Linked DNA regions of Homo sapiens: regions 2 and 3 are each linked to region 1. The links are contacts of gene promoters, found by promoter capture Hi-C in human tissues and cell types (Jung and others, 2019). All regions are on one chromosome and are shown on one strand. Each heading gives the region's core, a stretch centred on a gene start or on the middle of the fragment in contact. The rest is flanking DNA. Distances are from core to core; before and after follow the strand shown. Region 1 holds the start of EMP3 (epithelial membrane protein 3 (MAM blood group)). Region 2 holds the start of C5AR2 (complement C5a receptor 2). Region 3 holds the start of NAPA (NSF attachment protein alpha).

What was found. Contacts are between HindIII fragments. The study calls those that stand out against the background at their distance.
Region 2: the fragment with the promoter of C5AR2 here is called in contact with the fragment with the promoter of EMP3 in region 1 in 1 of the 25 tissues and cell types used here (dorsolateral prefrontal cortex).
Region 3: the fragment with the promoter of NAPA here is called in contact with the fragment with the promoter of EMP3 in region 1 in 1 of the 25 tissues and cell types used here (dorsolateral prefrontal cortex).

Annotation. Positions count from the first base shown.
Region 1 is chr19:48,323,654-48,326,801 of GRCh38, reverse strand. EMP3 (epithelial membrane protein 3 (MAM blood group)) reads right to left here and starts at 1,250. Exons shown (of 5, transcript NM_001425.3): 1 at 1,192-1,250. RefSeq lists enhancers at 367-436, 727-776, 1,377-1,426 and a silencer at 2,004-2,235. The HindIII fragment of the contact is 22,631 bases long and covers 1-3,148 here.
Region 2 is chr19:47,330,489-47,333,636 of GRCh38, reverse strand. It overlaps C5AR2 (complement C5a receptor 2), which reads right to left and starts at 1,462. Exons shown (of 2, transcript NM_001271749.2): 1 at 1,288-1,462. The HindIII fragment of the contact is 20,876 bases long and covers 1-3,148 here.
Region 3 is chr19:47,513,559-47,516,706 of GRCh38, reverse strand. It overlaps NAPA (NSF attachment protein alpha), which reads left to right and starts at 1,644. Exons shown (of 11, transcript NM_003827.4): 1 at 1,644-1,864. The coding sequence starts at 1,767. RefSeq lists an enhancer at 996-1,265 and a silencer at 1,356-1,695. The HindIII fragment of the contact is 27,973 bases long and covers 1-3,148 here.

The DNA.
Region 1 (3,148 bases), core at 1-2,500:
TCAAGAGGTTGGCACAGGCCAGGCACACTCACGCCTATAACCCCAGCACTTTGGGAGGCCGAGGCGGGAGGATCACCTGAGGTCAGGAGATCGAGACCAGCCTGGCCAACATGGTGAAACCCCATCTCTACTAAAAATACAAAATTAGCTGGGTGTGGTGGTGCACACCTGTAATCCCAGCTACTCGGGAGGCTGAGGCAGGAGAATCACTGGAATCCAGGAGGCAAAGGTTGCAATGAGCCAAGATCATGCCATTGCACTCCAGCCTGGGTGACAGAGAAAGACTCCGTCTCAAAAAAAAAAAAAAATTTGGCATAAAGGCAGGTGAGATGTCTCCTGATGGAGGAAGGGCATGGGTGCAGACTCCTGGGTCTCTCAGGGAGGAGACCGCTGGGGCCTGGATTCCTGAGATCCCCATTGGCTGGAGGGGTGGAGAGGGCCAAAGATGGACTCTTGGGTTCCTTGAATGAGGAGGACTAGCAATGTGGCTCCTCTCTCCCCAGAACCCTGACTCTGGGTTACATACAGGCCAGATAGTGAAAATTCAAGTTGAGACCCCACCCTGCACCCCGACATCAGGATTGAGGAGCTGCCCCCAGCAACAGGCATTCTTGACTCACACCACTCCTCTCCTGGGTTGAGGGGAGGAGGGGGACCTGGTGAGTCATCTGGTGACTCATCCCCACCCCCCCCCATCTCTAAGCACCAGGGAAACCCCAGCCCCTGGCTATGTCCACGAGGTCCTCACCCCACCCTGCTGCCAGACTGGTGACTGTTGGACATCTTCTGGAGGAAATGGATAGGATTCGCGCTGGGGGGAAGAGAGGCCCAAGAAGGAGTTAGCCTCCCAGGACTCTTTGGTGCCCAGGAACAGGGGACCTAGAGGTCTCCCAGATTTGGGGTGTTCTCATGCAATGCCCTGATCTCAGGGACCCCAGAGGACAGTGGACACCGCTGAGGGAAAAACTGCAGGAAGTTTTCCAGTGGAGGGCTCTGCTGGGACCCCAAAACTTTGCCGGGCCCCACCCCTTCCCATATCCCCACCTCAAGTGCTAAGAGATCACTTATTAAATTAAAAGGATTTCCAAGAGTCAGGGACGTCTCTCCCAGCCTGGGGGTGTCCTTCCCAAACTGCTACATTCCCAAGTAAATTAAGAAGTCCCAGCCCTGAATAACGGACTGGAAACTTACCGAGAGCCGCGAAAAAAGTCAGAGCTGGAGTCGGAGTCTTGTCCCTCGCTCGGGCCTCCGTGCCCCGCCCTTCTCCTCCCTCCTTTCACCCTCCCGAGGCCCCCGCCTCTCTCACCGCCTTCCTCCCTCCCTTGCTCTCCCCTCCAATCCAGAACCCTTTCTCTCTCGCTCGCTCTCCTTCTGCGTCTCTTCTCTCCCTCCTGCCCTCACTGTCTGGGCCTCCTTCTCTCTTGCTCCCGTTTCTCTTTCTCTCCTCCTCTCAATATATACTGACCCTTTTATAAACCCACCCTCACCGCACCCAGCTGAGGTCGGCTGCCAGTGGGAGGGCCCAGGCACTCCGGTTCCTCTTTCTTTGGGCCCCCACCCAATCCCTCCAGACAGACATCATCTGGGGCTCCCTCCCAGGGTTGAGATGAGAAACTCTTGGAATGGGGTTCTTGGGGGGGGCAAGCGTCAGGGGTGGGAGGGCCCGATTCTCAGGACCCTTGAGTTTTGAGGTCTTGCCCTGGGGCCGGATGTCTGCTTTCCCTGATGGAGCTTGGAGCTGGATAGGAGTCTGGGAAAAGAGGCCAGATTTCTGTGGCATGGACTTGAGATTGGGCTGGTGAAGTTGGCCCCGTGGTGGGGGGTCAGAGGATGGGAGATGAAATTTGTGAAACTCGGCAGGGCGTTGTGGCTCACGCCTGTAATCCCAGCACTTTGGGAGGCCGAGACGGGCAGATCATCTGAGGTCAGGAGTTCGAGACCAGCCTGGCCAACATGGTGGAAACCCGTCTCTATCAAAAATACAAAAATTAGCCGGGCGTGGTGGCGGGCGACTGTAATCCCAGCTACTTGGGAGGCTGAGCCATGAGAATCGCTTGAACGCGAGAGGTGGAGGCTGCAGTGAGTTGAGTTTGCACCACTGCCTTCCAACCTGGGGGACAAAGTGAGATTCTGTCGCAAAAAAAAAACAAAACAAAACAAAAAACAAACAAACAAAAAAAAAAACCTTGTGAAACTCTGGAAGCGGGGAGGAAGCGGAAGCTAAGAATCCCAGCGCCATCATTTCCTGGTTCAGTGACCTTGAGCCAATTATTTCACCCACCTGGGCTCCAGTATCTTAGTCTATGTTGAGAGTATAATAATGCTGACAAAATACTAATACTGATAATAATAATTCTGATACTTATGCTGAATGAATAAGGTAATACTGGCACACTCACACACCTAACCTGTTCCTTCCTTCATCAAACATTTATTGAACATGTACTCTGATCTGGGAGTTAATAATGAAAACAGACATGAGCCCTGCTGGTATTATGGAGCTTGTATTCTAGTAGAGGAAGACAGACAAGAGAAAACATCAATGATGAAGATAAATCTCAGATAAGGATAAGTGACTTGAAAAATAAATACAATAGGCTGGACGTGGTGGCTCATGCCTGTAATCTCAGCACTTTGGGAGGCCAAGGCTGGAGGATCACCTGAGGTCGAGAGTTCAAGACCAGCCTGGCCAACATGGTGAAACCCTGTCTCTACTAAAAATACAAAAATTAGCCAGGCATGGTAGTGGGCGCCTGTAACCCAGCTACTCAGGAGGCTGAGACAGGAGAATTGCTTGAACCCGGGAGGCGGAGGTTGCAGTAAGCTGAAATCACGCTACTGCACTCCATCCTGGGTGACAGAGCAAGACTCCATCTTAAAGAAAAAAAAAAATAAAAGAAGAAAAGAAAAATAAATACAATAATAAATCAAACAGAGTGATGGAGATAATGACAGAGTGCAGGGAAGACTACTTGAAACAGGAAAATCAGGGAAGGCCTCTTGGAGGAGGTAACATTTGAGCTGAAGACAGGAGTCATTTGAACGCTGGGGTTGGGGAGTGGTGGGGGGGCGTCGGGGGGAGAGGAAGTGCAAAAGCTCTTAAAGCTTTTGAGAACAAGCTCAGGTTGTTTAGGGAGCAGACAGAAGG
Region 2 (3,148 bases), core at 213-2,712, 990 kb after region 1:
ACTGCACTCCAGCCTGAGCAAGACTCCATCTCAAAAAAAAAAAAAAAAAAAAGGAGTCTGAACATTCTTTATTCCTGAACATCCATCTTCTAGGATTCCTCCCTCACGACCCAGCAATCAGCCTCCTTTCCGCAAAAGAACACATATGCTCACCAGAATACATGTGCCAGAATGTTCACAGCAGCCCAAGATGAGAAACCGTCCAAATAGCCACCCACAGCAGAATGGATAAACACATCATGGGGTGTTCACCCTGTGGAATATTCTACACGATGAGAATGAACAAACACCACACAAGAATGTGGACAGATTTTGTGATAGAACATTGAGGGGGCCAGGCACGGTGATTCACGCCTGTAATCCCAGCACTTTGGGAGGCCAAGGTAGGTGGATCACCTGAGGTCAAAAGTTGGAGACCAGCCTGGCCAACATGGTGAAACCCCATCTCTACTAAAAATACAAAAATTAGCTAGGTGTGGTGGCGTGCACCTGTAATCCCAGCTACTCAGCAGGCTGGGGCAGGAGAATCACTTGAACCTGGGAGGCGGAGGTTGCAGTGAGCCAAGATCGCACCACTGCACTCCAGCCTGGGAGACAGAGTGAGACCCTGTCAAAAGAAAGAAAGAGAGAAAAGGAAAGAAAGAGAAAAGAATTGGAATCGCTGAGTTAAAGGGCTTGCTTGCTACACATGCTACAGTTTGGTGGATCTGCCGAAAGCTGCAGGAATTCCTGCAGGTTTGAGAGAGGCTGTTTCCCATACATCTGTGTGTGAAAAACCATTTGGGCAGGGCACAGTGGCTCACGCCTGTAATCCCAGCACTTTGGGAGGCCAAGGCGGACAGATCACCTGAGGTCGGGAGTTCGAGACCAGCCTGACCAACATGGAGAAACCCCATCTCTACTAAAAATACAAAATTAGCCAGGCATGGTGGCATGCGCTTGTAATCCCAGCTGAGACAAGAGAATCCCTTGAACCTGGGAGGTGGAGGTTGCGGTGAGCCAAGATGGCACCATTGCACTCCAGCCTGGGCAACAAGAATGAAAACCTGTCTCCAAAAAGAGAAAGAAAAAAAATGCTTAGATCCTTTGACAAGAGCTTTGCTGCTGGGCTGCCCAAGTTAATTCAAGAGCCCAGGACTGTGACGTGCGTTCCAGTGTGGCTGTAATAAGACTGCACTTCTCAAACTCTAGTTCTGCTTCCCAGATTCTGAAAGTAATGATTCCGAGAAGCCAAGATCATGCAATCTCTCTCTCCCTCCTTCCCGCCCTTGTAGCCTCCATCCTTACCGTCTCTTCCAAGAGTGTCCCCACGTGAGTCAAACGCCACTTGGGAGCCCAATCCGGGCCCACAGCCAGGACCCAGGAGGTCTGGGGTCTCTCCCTGCCGTGTCTGGCAGCTGGTAGAGTCCTGGAAATCCGTCCTGTTTGCCAGGGCTCCTGTCGGATGCTGCTGAGCACTGCCACCTCACCAGTCCCAGTGAATCTTTATAAGCAGTACAAAATAGGAGTGGCCTTGTCTCGCTCTCAGGGTGTGTTTGTCCTGTCTTCTTCCCGTGACTCACAGAACCCAAAATTACGGGGTGGCTGGCAGGGCAGGAGAGGGCTCGGTTGGGTGGAGGGCTGATCCCAAGTCCCCAACCCTAGTCTCGAAGTCCCACCTTCCTGGAAGCCAGACCTGCATGCGGTTTGCTCTTTAACGCCTTAGAGGTCTTGGCCTGGATTCTGTTTGCCCACAACATGCCAGCTGCCCCCAGCCACCTCCAGGCCTCTAACTGTGTTCAACCCCTCCCTTCTGCAGCCTCAGGACAGACAAACATCCCTCCCTCCTCCTCGGCTCTGAGGAAGACAGCCTGGGGTCACATTCTCCACAAAAAGACCACAGCAGCTGAGCGCAGGGCCCAACGCCTCAGTGGTAGAAAAAGCACAAACAACTCCTTTCTTGGGCCTCAATTTTCCATCTGTAGAATGGGAAGATGTTGTTGGCCATAGCGATGCTTTACTTTTTTTAGAGATGGAGTCTTGCTCTGTCGCTCAGACTGGCGTGCAGTGAAAACATTATGCCTCACTGCAGCCTCAAACTCCTAGGCTCAAGTGATCCTCCCACCTCAGCCTCCTGAGTAGCTAGGACTACAGGCATGCACCAACATACCTGGCTAATTTTTTAAAATTTTCTGTAGAGGTGCGGCCTTGCTGTGTTGCCCAGCCTCAAGCCATCCTCACACCTCGACCTCCCAAAGGGCTGGGATTACAGAAGTGAGCCACAGCCGTGATAGCAATTCTTAACCTCTTCCAGCATATCACAGTGGCTGAGAACAAGAACTCAAGGGCCAGAATGATGAGATTCATATTCCAGGTCGACACACCCTCATCAAAGTTCAGGGCCTCAGCCCCTCTGAACCTCAACTTCCTCATCTGTGCAGTGGATGTTTGCTATGAGCGTTGGATACATTTAAAACGCACAGAACTGGCTGGGCGCGGTAGCTCACATCTGTAATCCCAGCACTTTGGGAGGCCGAGGCAGGTGGATCACTTGAAGTCAAGTGTTCAAGACCAGCCTGGCCAACATGGCAGAACACCATCTCTACTAAAAATACAAAAATTAGCTGGGCGTGGTGGTGCGTGCCTGTAATCCCAGCTACTCGGGAGGCCGAGGCAGGAGAATCATTTGAACCGAGGAGGCGGAGGTTCCAGTGAGCCGAGATCTCACCATTGCACTCCAGCCTGGGCGACAGAGTGAGACTCTGTCTCAAAAAAACAAAAACAAAAAAACCGGAGCAGTGCCTGGCACATAGTATACGCTAGGCTCACGCAACAGCAACAAGACTGTAACGTGAATTCTTAAAGTACACATACCACGCAGGCTTAGCAAGAGGAAGTGGCTCCAACCCCAACTTTGGAACCTCTTTATTCAGCAGTTCTTTCTGTTTGTGCTTTTTTTGTGCGTGCTTTAGGGATTCAAGGGATATATTTACACACTTCTTTTGTTATTGTTTTAGAGAATGAAATCACTTTGCTAGAGGAAGTTGTTCGTGAGACAAGGAGCTGGGACTCACTGTTTGACCCAGGGCTTCCTCCACTCTGTTTCCCTGACTAGGTGACCCTGCGTTGGCTGACCCTCACCCCGGACCCTCAGAGAGGAAAACATCCC
Region 3 (3,148 bases), core at 395-2,894, 810 kb after region 1:
TCCACTGTAAATTTAGGCTTTTTCTCCCCTTTCTTGTACCCTCTTCTTTGAAAGGAAGTCACTATGCACAGTCCATACTTACAGAATGGGGAGGTATCCTTCACCTTCTTGAGAGCAGAGTATCTACGCAGATTATTTGGAATTCTTCTGCACAAACTATTTGTCTATTCTCCCCCCTTTATTTATTTGTTCTATATTCATCTATATGACCATAGGCTCATGGATACTTTATGTTTGGGATTATAATCCAATACTACTTTATTTTGATGCTCAAATTGTTCCAGCTTTGGCCATTGGGAGTTCTTTCAGTTGGCTCCTTTGGCATACCCCCTAATTTTGTGTGTGAGCACACGTGTGGAATACTTCCTTCCTTTCTGGCACTACAAAGTTATACTGAGGTGAGCTATGATTGTGCTGCTGCACTCCAGCCTGGGCGACAGACCGAGACCCTGTCTCCAAAACCAACAACCCAAAGAGTGAGACCCTGTCTCAGAAACCAGCAACTCAATTTTCTGGGACAGCAGGAGGTGTGTTTGAGCCTAAACTTTTTTTTTTAGAGACAGAGTCTTGCTATGTTGCCCAAGGCGGGACTTGAACTAGACTCAAACTCCTGGGCCCAAGCGATCCTCTCGCCTCCCGAGTAGCTGGGATTATAGGCACGAGACACCGCGCCCATCTTCGAATCTGAATTTTTTTTTAACACGCTCTCTTCAGCTATTTTTTTTTTTTTTCTGAGACTAAGTCTCACTCTGTCGCCCAGGCTGGAGTGCAGTGGCACGATCTCGGCCCGTTGCAACCTCCACCTCCCCGGTTCAAGCGATTCTCCTCTCTCAGCCTCCTCAGTAGCTGGGATTACAGGAGTGTGCCACCACACCCGGTTAATATTTGTATTTTAGTAGAGCGGGGTTTCGCCATGTTGGCCGGGCTGGTCTCAAACTCATGACCTCAAGTGATCCGCCCGCCTCGGCCTCCCAAAGTGCTGGGATTACAGGCGTAAGCCACCGTGCCCGGCCCTCTTCAGCTATTTTTTATGAAACCAGAGTTAGAGAACCTCTTAAGTTTTTGTTTGCAGTCTCTCTTCACCGGTCTCCCCAAAGCAGTTCTAGTACTGGCCGACAGAGGGAGCAAGAAAAAGCAGAACGGTTTCCTTTTCCCACAAACGCCTTTCCAAGTGAAGAAACCGGCGAGACCAGCCGCGGGGGCGGGACTAAGTTCTGCGCAGAACTGTCAAACCCGGGCGTGGGCCCCGAGCTGTCACGTGAGTGTCTGCGGTCAGCTGACTGTGCCAGAGTTCCGCGGGGAGGGCGAGTGGGGGACCCCCCGCCCCAGCGCGAGCCGAGGGCTCCTGCTGATTGGTGGAGGAGGATCCAGCAGCAACACCGTGGGGCGGGGCCTCGGCGGGGGGTACTGCCATTGCCTTCCACAGGGTCACGTGGGAGGTGAGGTACAGAGCGCTGGGGAGAGAGTGGAGCGCCGTTCGCCGGTATGTGCGCATGCGTTGAGGTCTCTTGACGCCGATTGGGGGGTCACGAGTCACGGGCGGCGTGCGGCGGCTGGTGGGGGCGTGTCCGGCGGAGCGGGCGCGGCGTTACGAGGCCGCTGGTTGGCCAGCGCTAGTCACGTGGTTCCTGGCCGCAAGCGACGCGCGCCGGTGCGACGTCAACGCAGCCGGGCGAGTTTTACCGATCTGTGTTCCGCGGCCCGGCCGCGGCTGAGTCTTCCCAGGGTCAGGGTCAGGCGCTTTGCTGAGTCCCTTTGTGGCCGCCATGGACAATTCCGGGAAGGAAGCGGAGGCGATGGCGCTGTTGGCCGAGGCGGAGCGCAAAGTGAAGAACTCGCAGTCCTTCTTCTCTGGCCTCTTTGGGTGAGAACCGGGCTGAGGGGTCGGCCGGGACCTAGGCTGAGAGGACGAAGGAGTCACGCTCGGAGGTGGCGGGTTAGGGCACGCAGAGCTCGGGCCGAGGGGACGGAGAGGAACCTGCAATAAGGTGACATGGCCTGAGGCGGCAGAGGGGACGCAGGCTGAGGGCCAAGAGCCTGGGCCGGGGCAACACGGTTTGAGGAGAGACGGTCTGACATGGCGGAAGGGATTTGGGCTGAGGACACACGGACCGAGGCGACACTATCTTGAGGCGAGGAAGGGGACCCAGGCCGAAGACAGGCCAGCGGGCGGGGGAGAACCTGGACCGAGGGAGTACGTCCTGAAGCCTTGGAGGGGACCGGCCTGGGGGGACGGAGGGAGTCCGGGAGAGAAGCCAGGTCCAGAGGCTTTTCGGAGCTCTAGGGGAGTCTGTTTGAAGGCTCTCAGGCGGCAGTGATGGGGCCTGGGGCTGAGGACGCCTGCCCGAGGGACTGACCTTTTCAACCCCTGGAGCAGTGGATTTGCGTGGGCCCTGGGCGGTGAGGGTGAAGGCTGAAGGGGGCTGACACCAGGCAGAGGGGCTCAGGGCTAGATGATCCTAGGAGCGGTGAGCCGCGTCTGAAGTGTGGGGGGTGCATGGGGTGAGTACGGCCCTGGTTAGCAGTGACTAGTTTAAGGACAGCTGAACGGAGGAACCCGGGATGATGGAGTCAAGACTGTGGAGGTCTCAGCACTTTGGGAGGCCGAGGTGGGCAGATTATCTGAGGCGGGGAGTTCGAGACCAGCCTGGACAACATGGTGAAACCCCGTCTCTACTAAAAATACAAAAGTTATCTGGGCCTGGTGGCGGGTACCTGTAATCCCAGCTACTCGGGAGGCTGGGGCAGGAGAATCACTTGAACCCGGAGGTAGAGGTTGCAGTGAGCCGAGATCGAGCCACTGCACTACAGCCTGGGGGACAGAGCGAGACTCTGTCTCAAAAAAAAAAAAAAAAAAAAAGAAAGAAAGAAAGAAAAAAGCCTGAGGAGGCCTGGGTTGAGGCTGGAGACTCCTGGGTGGGGGAATGCGTGGTGGTGGCTTGGCCAAGGAGATGGAGGGATAACAGGGAGAGACAGGGGGACTGAGAGAACCAAAACGGGGGATCAAATTCCTGCTGTGTGATCCTCGAGTAATAGGGATGACAGAGACATGCTGAGAAGAGGGATGGGAAAAGGCCTGGGAGACAGAACTAACACATATGACGTGGCATAAAACTCACGTTAGCTCCTAAAAGCTGACACGACCATC